Linked DNA regions of Homo sapiens: regions 2, 3 and 4 are each linked to region 1. The links are contacts of gene promoters, found by promoter capture Hi-C in blood cells and fetal thymus (Javierre and others, 2016). All regions are on one chromosome and are shown on one strand. The core of a region is centred on a gene start or on the middle of the fragment in contact, and the rest is flanking DNA. Distances in the headings are between cores, read along the strand shown. Region 1 holds the start of PNKP (polynucleotide kinase 3'-phosphatase). Region 2 holds the start of CARD8 (caspase recruitment domain family member 8). Region 3 holds the start of SYNGR4 (synaptogyrin 4). Region 4 overlaps DBP (D-box binding PAR bZIP transcription factor).

Region 1 (2,733 bases), core at 1-2,500:
TTCACTGACGGCTTGCAATTCCTCCCCAAATCCCATCCCCAGGCCTTGCTGGCCCTTGCAGAGGCACTGATACCTGTTTCACTGCCACTGTCCGGGTCTCAGGATCTGCGACCAGCTCCACTGAGGATTGGAGGGGTGGAGTCAGGATTTGCATCCTTGTGTGATTGGGTCCCTCATTTCTGGGGAGTGTGGCCTGCTTCAGGCTATAGCATCCAGGGAGTAAGAGGCAGTTTATTTCTACATGGGATTGGCTCCTTGACATGCAGTAGCCAGATAGTGGCACTAGGATTGCCTGACACTGGTCCTTGCAAGGGACAGGGAGGTACTTTTCTCTACAGAATTGGTTTCCTCCTTGACAAAAAATGTGGCTAGATATAGGTCCGGGGCTTGGCCTGTTACCATCCATCCCAACCTAGCGACATTTACTTTTCTCCACAGGATCATTTTTCTCTTGACGAAGGTCGTCGCCTGTTTCTGGATTTCCCGATGGCCTGAGCATCATCCGCGCAGTGAACATCCTCCCTAAATCGGCTCGATCCCCTCTCCCCCAAAGGATCTAGCTAATTCTAAATCAAGCACAAACTTTATCTTCCTGTACTCCCTAGAGAGCACCTTCCGACTTCGGGGCTGGCTGCACCACTGCAATCCCGCGTAGCAGCCAAGCGTCCCTCTGGATTGTTCCCGCTTTTGCAGCAGGCCACACCCCCTCCAGCTCAGGCCCCGCTCACCTTGAGTTCTGGAGCACTTCCGGTCCGTAACCTGGGTCAGGGGTCCCCTGCCCAGGACCAGGGCTTGCCCGTCCGAGGGCAGGAAGATGGGGGGCGCTCCCCCAGGGGGGCTCTCGAGCCACAAGCGGCCCGGGGCCTCCACCTCGCCCATCCTGGGTGCCGGCCTGGGGAGCAGGTAAACGGGCTTGAGCGGCGCACAGCCCCAATTTGCTGCAGGAAGTCCCGCCTCCTCCCACATCCACTAGAAAGTTTCCCCACCATTAACTGCTCCGGAAGTCCCACCCGCTCGCCTTCCGCGGGTCGACCCGTTTCCCAGGCGACGACGCGTGCTCCATCCCTCCCCGAGTTGCAATCCCCACTTTCCAGCGTACAGGCAGAGAGCCTCGCACATGCCTCCGCCCCGCCCCGTACTCACCCGGGACCGCGGCTTGGGCTCACGGCCACTTCCGACCAGGGAGGTCCTGCCCGAGGTGCCCCGCCTGCAACCCGGCCGGCGGCGGTCGGTTCCTCGGCGGACGGAAATGACTCGTCCCCTCGTGGGTGGGGGGCGGGGCCTGGCCTCCTCCCACAGCAGCCACGCCCCTTCCCCGACTCCCGGCCCCCAGGGTCTCTCGGCAGCCCTGACCTTCATCTCTCTTGCTGCAACGCGAGGCTCAGGCCGGTAGCGGGGACTGGATCCTCCGTTAGCAGATTTGCCTCTTTCCACCTTGACTTCTAATTTTCATCCCAGGGAGGAAGATTTTTTTCCCATCTGATGGTCATTGTCAGTCGAGGAAACCTCCGCCCCCGACAGCGCCCCTAAGTCCTTCTTTGGCTTCACCCTCGATGTTCTAGTTTCCTCATCTATAAAAAGGATAATCGTTTCCGCTTCGTGGGGTTACCATGACGATTAAAGGAGCTAACACGTGACAAAAGCTTTAAAAAATGGGTGGTAGTGAGCCCTGTTTAAGTCTTTTTTTTTTTTTTTTTTTGAGACGGAGTCTCACTCTGTCGCCCAGGCTGGAGTGCAGTGGCGCGATCTCGGCTCACCTGCAAGCTCCGCCTCCCGGGTTGACGCCATTCTCCTGTCTCAGCCTCCCGAGTAGCTGGGACTACAGGCGCCCGCCACCACGCCCAGCTAATTTTTTGTATTTTGAGTAGAGACGGGGTTTCACCGTGTTAGCCAGGACGGTCTCGATCTCCTGATCTCGTGATCCGCCCACCTCGGCCTCCCAAAGTGCTCAGATCCGTTTAAGTCTTATTTAGTGTTAGCATTCTTTCGGTAGTGGTCTGGTGGGACTACGTTTACCTAGTCCTAATTTCGGACGAGGTTCCACCTGCTTTCTAACCTCCAGCCATTTTTTTTTCCCTTTGGAGAAGGGGTCTCACTGTGCTGCCCAGGCTGATCTCGACCTCCTGGTGTCATGTGATCCTCCCGCCTTGGCCTCCCAGCGTGTTGGGCTTATAGGCGTGAGGCACCAAGCCCAGTTGCTCCAGTCCTTTTATAATAGAAGACTCCCGGCTGGAGTTCCTGGCTTTGCTGGTGAATATGTGGGCTCTGTCTCCAACACTCACCTCCTCAAGATTGGGTTCCATGGTCACATAAGACTGGGATGCTCTCCTCCACCCCATGAACCTGTGTCTTCATATCTATAAAATGGGCACAAAGCCAGGCGCCGTGGCTCACGCCTGTAATCCCAGCACTTTGGGAGGCCAAGGCGGGTGGATCATTTGAGGTCAGGAGTTCAAGACCATCCTGACCAACATGATGAAACCCTGTTTCTACTGAAAATACAAAAATTACCCGGGCGGCAGTGGCGCGTAATCCCAGCTACTCGGGAGGTTGAGGCAGGAGAATCGCTTGAACCTGGGCGAGAGTGGGACCCTGTCTCAAAAAAGTAAATAAAATGGGCACAGTAATTCCAACCCCCAGCTATTCACTGATAATCAGACGCTGCCATTCGGTTTCAGAAAATGTTGAATGAACACTCACAACACACTTCACATTTATCTCAGAGGTAAAACT
Region 2 (2,733 bases), core at 118-2,617, 1.6 Mb before region 1:
TTCGAGACCAGCCTGGCCAACATAGTGAAACCCCGTCTCTACTAAAAACACAAAAACAATTAGCTGGGTGTGGTGGTGGGCACCTGTAGTCGCAGCTACTCGGGAGGCTGAGGCAGGAGAGTGCTTTCAGAGAAACTTCTTGATCACAAGGGGAAATCTGAAAGTTGTCAGAACAAAATGGAGTCACTTATGTTAAGATAACCCTGACAAATAGAGCCAGGAAGGCCATGAAGAGAGGGCTCTTATCCTTGCATGCCTGAAGATGAAAAAGACTCTACAAAACCCACAACCTTACATAAAGGTCTTCACAACCTTAAAAAAATATATATTTCTGCAAGGAATGCTGCCCAGCAACTGCTGGTCCAACCTAGGACTAATGTCACCCTTGTTACTGATCTTTGTAGCCAAGGAAAATTCTGTTAAAACAATATGCAATCCTCCCCATTTCTGTCTTCCTTTATCTCCCTGAATATACACATAGTTTAATACGGCATGTCTATTCCCAATTGCAATGCTCTATTCCCAAATAAACATTGTTTCCGGCTGGGCGCAGTGGCTCACGCCTGTAATCCCAACACTTTGGGAGGCCAAGGCGGGCTGATCTCGAGGTCAAGAGACGGAGACCATCCTGGCCAACATGGTGAAACCCCGTCTCTACTAAAAAATAAAAAATTAGCTGGATGTGGTGGTGCACGCCTGTAGTCCCAGCTACTTGGGAGACTGAGGCACGAGAATCGCTTGAACCTGGGAGGCAGAGGTTGCAGTGAGCCAAGATCATGCCACTGTACTCCAGCCTAGCCACAGAGCGAGACTCCATCTCAAAAAGAAAAAAAAATTGTTTCCCTTAGGAAGCTTTCATATGTTTGTTAGTTAGGTTAACACTTCTAATAATTAAAGTTATACAGTTACAGTGTAAAATTATTAGTATTAACAACATAAACATTGGTATAAAAATTATTATTACAGAAATTAAAACAAATTGAGTGTGAGAGAGATTATTAAGACTGTCCAAGCCAAGTCACTGAAGTCATAAATTTAAGTTATGACAGGATGCCGAGCTTCCAGAGGGTTTTGTTTTTAACAAGGGAGGGGCCCTATTTCCCCTTCTGACACGCTCATATGAACTTCTCACTTTGTCGTACTCCTTCCTTGCTGACTAAGAGGAACAGAACACAGAGCAGCCTGGCGGTGTCCTACCAACAAGCCTCCGTTTCTCCTTCCTGTACACTAGGGCTCCTGAAACTCACCTGGTAAGCGCTCCAGAAAAGCAGCAGGTGGTGACTTTAGGGTAGGACGGGCCAAATGGGAGAATCCCCTTAGGTCGGTTTCTCTGGTTCTCAACTTCTTTTGAAATAACGCTCGCAGAGGAGGTGGGCTTTCTGAGAACTGAGGGAAGTAAGCTCTCAGGACTTCCGGTCGCCATGATGGCTGTGGGCAGTCAATGGGGTCAGTGCAAGCATCTGGGCCATCTTTAATGTGGGCAGGAAAAAAACACGATTACACTTACTTCTGCAGAGTTTATAATATCCTTGTTCATTATTTAAAATAAAATATCTAAGACATAGGTAATAGTATATTTTAAATAAAATTGAAGCAATATATGAAATTTCTCTGGAATTCATCCAGCCACTCTCAGCTGTTACCACTATCCAGAAACGTCTTAATCCGCCTGCATGATTTATGTATTTGGTTTGTATTTTAAATATCATTTTCTGTAATATTTAAAAGTTGTATTTGCTTGGTATCCTGCTATGCATTCTCATGCAATTTGATTTTTAATCAATATTACTTTTTTTTTTTTTTGAGATGAAGTCTCCGTCTGTCACCCAGGCTGGAGTGTAATGGAGCAATCTCGGCTCACTGCAACCTCTGCCTCCCAGGTTCAAGCGATTCTCTTGCCTCAGCCTCCCGAGTAGCTGGAATTATAGGTGCATGCCACCACGCTCGGCTAATTTTTTGTATTTTTAGTAAAGACGGAGTTTCACCATGTTGGTCAGGATGGTCTCCGTCTCTTGACCTCGAGATCAGCCCGCCTCGGCCTCCCAAAGTGCTGGGATTACAGGCGTGAGCCACTGTGCCCGGCCTTGGTTTCTAAATACTATTTTGAAGTATCTGTGGAGAAATGGTTACTTCGAGGGCTGGGGCAGGAATATATAAGATAACATTGGAACAAATTCTGACGCCAGAACATGAAGAAATATTTGAAAAAGGATGGGGCATATTGACTGAACACAGAAGACAAACATGCATGACCTCAGCCTAATCGTGAGAAAACATCAAAGAAATCCAAATTGATAAACATTCTGTAAAATAATTGGCCATGCTCAGCAAAAGTGTCACAATCACAAAAGACAAGGGAAGAATAAGAAACGGTCACAGCCTGGAGGAATCTAAGGACATAACAACTGAGTGCAATGTGAGATCCTCGATTCGATCTTGGAGAAGAAAGAGGACGTTAAGAGAAATATTGACAAAATTCAAATAAGGTCTGCACATTAGGTAATGGTAAGATACGTTGACATCAATTTCCTGGTTGGATACTTGTATTACATATACTATTATGTATATAATTATTATATTACAATTACATATACAGTTGTATATTATATATAATACAATAAATGTATATATATGATTATAATACAATAAATGTATATATACAGTTTTATATATAACAACTATTATACATATAATACAATTATATATATAGCTAACATCAGGATAGGCTGGTTG
Region 3 (2,733 bases), core at 90-2,589, 1.5 Mb before region 1:
GAGGGAAAAACCATGCCCCAGAGAGTGCCTGTTCAAGCCCTCAGAACAAGCCAGAGTTGGGAATGGATGCTGCGTCTGCATCTCGGAGACCTGGCTCCTGCATTCCAGCTCATCTCCCGCCCACTAGGGAAACACGAAGGGACCCGGGAACTACAACTCCCAGGAGGCGCCAGGGCAGCTCTCTGCAGCAACTAGGGCCCTGCCGCCGCGAAGCCTGCTGGGAGCCGTAGTCCCCAGGCTCTTGGGCCTGGGACAGGCGGTACCTGTATTAGGAGGCGGAGCAGCTGCTCCTTGGAGAAGGGAATGAAGCGCTCGCGGTACTGCTGGGCCCAGTCGCGGGGCTCCCTGGGGTTCCACATCTTGCGATACTCCCCCATTTTGGCTGCCAGCGATGAGAGGGCCCGGGGGGGCCCGAGGAGCGCGGGCAACAGTGGCCATACTCGGACCCTGGACCCCCAGACCCCCCGGGTCACATGCAGCATGGCTAGACCCTTTCCCCGGAGCCTAAACAGAGGAAAATGGGCAGGGGTCAAAGGCCATCTAGAGGAAAAGCGCCCTCTCCACCTCCACGTCCCACCCTCCAGAAGCCGTCTCTACCCCAGGCAGGGCGCAGAGCCCATCCGCTCGCCTCAAAGCCCCTGTTGCCTGTCCCCTTCCCACACTGCTCAGTTGGCCTGGGTCCCAGACAGGGGTCAGAGGTCTTAGGTTCTGGGGCGTTTTTCAGGCCCAGAGACCCTGTAGTGGTACAACGTTTCTTTGGGGTCTAGACAGCGAGGTAGATCTTAGGAGAGCAGGAAATGCTCGTAAAGGTTACCTAGGGGGTGCAGGGCCGCCCTCCCTGGCCATGCAATCCCCCGATTTCTCCCTCACCTTAGCCAAAGCTCGACTGTCATTGAGCCTCCTGCGCATGTGCAGGAGGGCGTCCTGGGCTCCCGAGGTTCGGCTTCACCCAGCAGTAAAACGCATGCGCAAAGCTTCGGTCAATGCGGGCTGTCCATTTCTCACCGCCGACTCCCTACATCAACTACGCATGCGTTGCCTGCCTTTCTCCACCGCCGGCCTCGTTTGGGCGCGACGCATGCGCCGCAGGAGTGTCTCCTTGTCAGCTTGCTACAAAGGGAAGGGGCGGTGTGGACGCGAGACTCCCTAGAGGGATGGGGCGGGGTAGGGCTCCCGCGCGCAGTCCGCCAACGGCGCGCAGTCCAACGTTCGCCGAGGCCACGCCCCGGCTCGTGTCAGCTCCTGAGTAGGCGGAAAGAGGGAGGGGGCGGGACTTGGGCGCAGCCAATCAGCTGTGGAGGAGCGAAAAGGCGGGAAAAAGCGGAACCAAAAGAAGGCTGAGGTGGCGCTAGGGACCAGGAGGGGTGGGGGTGGCGAAAGGAAGGGCGGGCCCTCAGGTGACGCAGATTGGCCCTCCAGAGAAGGGGCGGCCCCTTCTCAGGTGCCGTCACCCCCAAACCTCAGCACTGCCATTCCAGGTCCTTAAAGGGGAGACCGCGATTCTAAGAAGGTAGCCCAGTGCCGGGGCGTGGCCTCATTCTGAGGTTCCCCACAAATCCGAGGTCCCGACTCCCAGCTTGAGGAGGTGCACTTCCGTGAAAATGGAGCTGAATTCGAAAGGGAGGCCCTTATTCTGGGAAATGGCCCCAAGTGACAAGGACAGCCTGAAATATGCCCTGAGATACCTGGGTTCTCCACGAAGGGTGCTGTCACCCCCAAACCTGAAAGGGATTATTCGGTTTCAGACCTCCCAGGGGCTCTGATCTCAATGGCCGCACCCCCTAGTCCCCAGAAAGTCCCACCTGTGTCCTCTCACAGAAGGACCCAGTCCCTCTGCAGGCCCTTCAGCTCCTGGGTCACAAGACGTGGTCCCCAAATATCCCAGCCCTCCCCTGCACTCCACCTCTGGGATCCCTGACAGCCCTCTCGCCCAACAACCCCCTCAGCCCACATTCCTGACTTCTGGAACCTGAAGCAGCCCCTTCACTTATGTCCCCCACTCCTGGGACCCCCAGAATCACCCTCACCCCAGGCCCTCACCTCTCTGGAATCCTCCATAGACCCCCTTAACCCACACCTCAACCCAGGGGACCCTTAGCGACTCTCTCATCCTGCACCTCCACCTCTGTGACCCCTGGCAGCCCTCCCCACACGACACCTTGCCTGGGACCCCTAGTATCCCCATCCTATGCCCCCCTCTCCTGGGACCCCCAGAAAGCTCCCTCACCACACACAACCCCATTCCTGGGAACCCCCAGCACCCGCATCCTATGTCCCCCACTTCAGGGACCCCTAGCAGCCCTCTCCACACAACACCTTTCCTGGGACCCCCCAGAACCCCCATCCTATGCCTCCCACTTCTGGGACCCCTAGTAGCCCCCTCACCACACAACCCCATTCCTGGGACCCCCAGCACCCCCATCCTATGCCCCCCACTCCTGGGGCCCACAGAAGCCCCCTCAGCACACACAACCTCATTCCCTGGGACCCACCTGCACCCCCATCCTACGTCCCCGACTTCTGGGGCCCCTGACAGCCCATTCACCCCACACCCTGACTCCTAAGAGGCTCAGCAGTCCCCTCACCCCACACAACTCCATTCCGGGGACCCCCCCCATCCCCACCCCATGTCCCCCAATCCTGGGGCCCCCAACAGCCCTTCCACCCCGTGCCCCTGACTGGCATCCCCCATCTGTGTCATCCCACAGCAGCCAAGCCCAGGGCTGGCCTGAA
Region 4 (2,733 bases), core at 1-2,500, 1.2 Mb before region 1:
CATCCAGCTCTGCTCACCTTCTGCTCCTCCGGCACCTGGATTTTTCTTGCCTTCTTCATGATTGGCTGGGGCTTAAGTTCCTCTTCTGAGAAGCGATGTCTTCGAGGGTCAAAGGTCTCGTGGCCAGGAATGCTTGATAGGGCAAGATCAGCTGGGTCGGGTTCAAAGGTCATCAACACCTCCACGGTGTCTGGGTCCACAGGGCTGGGTGTGTCCCGAGAGGTCAGGCCTTGGGGAAACAGCACGTGTCAGCTGAGTGTGTATTTTAAGGAGGGGGTTTCCTGAAGCTACTTTTTGCTGTGGTATCATAGCCACATGGAAAGTCCTTCTGGGATCTAGCATAAATTCGGCCAGGGATTAATCTCCCTAATATAAAATATGAAGGTTCCCTTGGCCAGGCGCAGTGGCTCACGCCTGTAACCCCAGCAGTTTGGGAAGCCGAGGCGGCGAATCACCTTTAGTCAGGAGTTCAAGACCAGCATGGCCAACATGGAGAAACCTCATCTTTACTAAAAGTACGAAAATTGCCCAGGTGTAGTGGCGGGTGCCGGTAAGCCCAGCTACTAGGGAGGCTGAGGCTGGAGAATTGCTTGAACCCGGACCCTGGAGGTGGAGGTTGCAGTGAGCTGAGATCATACCACTGCACTCCAGCCCGGACAACAGAGCGAGACTCCGTCTCCAAAATAACGAGAAAAATGAAGGTTCCCCTAAGCCATAAAGATGCTTAGAGATCATGGAGCCATATCCACCTTTACAAACAAGGAAACTGAGTCCCAGTCATAACTGACTTGCCCTAGGTAACACACGAATCAGGGCTATTGCTTCTACACTTGATCTTAGCCAAAAGGCCGAGAAGCGATGGGGCTATTGCTTCTAAAACCTCAGGACTTCAGATGCACAGTCTAGCCTGAATCCTACTTACCGAATCCACGACCTAAGCTTAGACCCCAGACTGTCCAGAGAAAAAGAATCTACTGCACTGAAAAGCTCTCAAGTTAGAGTCTAAGAGCTACTCGCTGGAAAGAGGAGGAGAAGCTGCTCTAAGGTTCCAGAAGATTGGTTCGAAAGGAGGCGCCTGTACCTTTAAGCACCAGCCAGCCGGGGCCAGCTAAGGACACAGGTTCAGGGCCGAGTCACGTGCTGACGCCTGCTTCCCTCCTCCTCCCTTCCTCCCAGGCCCCCGCCATCGGCGCCCTCACGTTCCCCCGGCCCCGCCCCCCTCGCGCTTGAAGGCGCCTGCGCGAAGCGCGGAGGAGGGATGGGAGGACTCACGTGGCGCAGGAATGTGCCGCTGGGAAGGGTAGGGCCCTGGTTCGGCCCGGAGGTCGGACCTGGAGCAGGTGTGCCCAGGAATCCCCGACCTGCAGTCCGTCCCTGGAGACCTCAATGTGCCCAAAGGGAAACATCTTTCCTCTTGCTCTTCCAGTCACTTAGTTCCACTCAACCTCCAAAGATTCCCAACCCCCTGCTCTCCGGGGAGCATCGGCCTCCTGGACCTTCCCAGAACCCCCGCCACTGGGCTACCACGATTCTGGGATCCCAGGCCTCTCCTAGGAATATAGGAAGCTTGGCCCCAGCCCCAATTGGAGGATCCAGAAACAACATCCCTAACGTTTTCCCTTCTGAAGAACTCTGGGACCCGGGGCTGCAGCACGCCCCACTGGGGGACCCAGGGACCTGGGCTGCCAGTCTCTTATGTCCTGGGTAAACAGAATTCTGTGCCTCTCCTTTGCCTTTGCCCCTGTAAAGGACCTAGGGGCTCCAGTCCTATCCCAGTTCCATCGATTATGGGCCCAGATTCGGGGGTCAGTCCACTCCCCAGTAAATAACTCTGGTGTTCCGGACTTCCAGTTCTGGCTTCACGAGTATCCACATCGTTTGTCCCCAAGTCCCACAGAAAAACCCACAAAATCTCATTGGGCAGGCTTCCTGGAATTTAGGGTTCCAAGTCTCTCCTCCCCCATGGATCCATTGGTCCCTGACCCATTAAGAGACACCGAATCTGGCCCCCTCCCACGACACCTCTCGACAACTGGACACAGAATTCGAGGCCGCAGCCAGGTCCCACGGTCCCAGCCCCCAGCGTCGCACAGCCCCGCCCCCTGAGTCCAAGCCCCGCCCCGTCAGGACCCGCCCCGCCCCCTTCGCCGCACCTGCGCGGTGGCCGCTGGCGGTCCCGAGGGCAGCCCGGGCGGGGGCGTGCCCAGGAGAGGAGCGGGGGGAAGCCGAGCCGCACGAACCCGGCCCTGGGGAGGGTGCGGGCGTCCGCGCGGGCGACGGCTCCGGCGACGGGCCACCGGGGGGCGGCGGGCTGGGCGGGAGCCCGTGCTCCAGCAGGAAGGCGTCCAGGTCTACGTACTCCACATCGCCGAACGGCAGCGTGCGCTCCCACAGCAGTGGCGCCAACAGACCCGGGGCGGGCACCGGCCCCGGGCGCCCCCGCGGGGACCCTCCGCCCACCACTGCCCCAGCCGGGGCATCCGCCGGGCCCGCAGTCTCCAGGCCTGGCCCAGGGGTTGTGGCTGCAGGCAGGGCCGCCTTGCGCTCCTTTTCCTTCAGGAGACCTGCGGGCCGGGAAAGACGGGTTGGGATGAGGGTGAGGTGGGGGAGATAGAGATGGAGAAGAGACCCCGAGTCCGAGAGGCACAGGGCGGAGATCCAGAGAAAGAGGGGACGGGGGGTCGGAGAGGAGAGACGGGAGAAAAAGGGACGGAGACGCAGAGTGGGAGAGAG

What was found. The method cuts DNA at HindIII sites, captures the fragments that hold promoters and counts their contacts. A CHiCAGO score of 5 or more calls a contact.
Region 2: a contact is called between the fragment with the promoter of CARD8 here and the fragment with the promoter of PNKP in region 1, in 1 of 17 cell types (naive B cells). The highest score is 5.3, in naive B cells.
Region 3: the fragment with the promoter of SYNGR4 here is called in contact with the fragment with the promoter of PNKP in region 1 in 1 of 17 cell types (naive CD4 T cells); the score reaches 6.1 in naive CD4 T cells.
Region 4: a fragment that was not itself captured here is called in contact with the fragment with the promoter of PNKP in region 1 in 2 of 17 cell types (naive B cells and naive CD4 T cells); the score reaches 8.7 in naive B cells.

Annotation. Positions count from the first base shown.
Region 1 is chr19:49,866,326-49,869,058 of GRCh38, forward strand. PNKP (polynucleotide kinase 3'-phosphatase) reads right to left here and starts at 1,251. Exons shown (of 17, transcript NM_007254.4): 1 at 1,144-1,251; 2 at 729-892; 3 at 74-120. The coding sequence starts at 879. AKT1S1 (AKT1 substrate 1) reads right to left here. Exons shown (of 5, transcript NM_001098633.4): 5 at 2,714-2,733. RefSeq lists enhancers at 1-706, 707-1,488 and silencers at 648-1,017, 1,088-1,387. The HindIII fragment of the contact is 3,228 bases long and covers 1-1,641 here.
Region 2 is chr19:48,254,545-48,257,277 of GRCh38, forward strand. It overlaps CARD8 (caspase recruitment domain family member 8), which reads right to left and starts at 1,368. Exons shown (of 14, transcript NM_001184900.3): 1 at 1,248-1,368. It overlaps CARD8-AS1 (CARD8 antisense RNA 1), which reads left to right and starts at 1,131. Exons shown (of 2, transcript NR_040599.1): 1 at 1,131-1,250; 2 at 1,807-2,733. RefSeq lists an enhancer at 1,237-1,476. The HindIII fragment of the contact is 2,537 bases long and covers 851-2,733 here.
Region 3 is chr19:48,363,028-48,365,760 of GRCh38, forward strand. SYNGR4 (synaptogyrin 4) reads left to right here and starts at 1,340. Exons shown (of 5, transcript NM_012451.4): 1 at 1,340-1,510; 2 at 2,709-2,733. TMEM143 (transmembrane protein 143) reads right to left here and starts at 913. Exons shown (of 8, transcript NM_018273.4): 1 at 871-913; 2 at 264-504. The coding sequence starts at 893. RefSeq lists enhancers at 465-514, 995-1,114, 1,485-1,634. The HindIII fragment of the contact is 5,293 bases long and covers 973-2,733 here.
Region 4 is chr19:48,633,427-48,636,159 of GRCh38, forward strand. DBP (D-box binding PAR bZIP transcription factor) reads right to left here. Exons shown (of 4, transcript NM_001352.5): 2 at 2,154-2,564; 3 at 18-229. Among named protein-coding and RNA genes, the nearest start is that of DBP, 2.6 kb to the right of the region's middle. RefSeq lists silencers at 1,125-1,304, 2,015-2,324, 2,445-2,504. The HindIII fragment of the contact is 627 bases long and covers 938-1,564 here.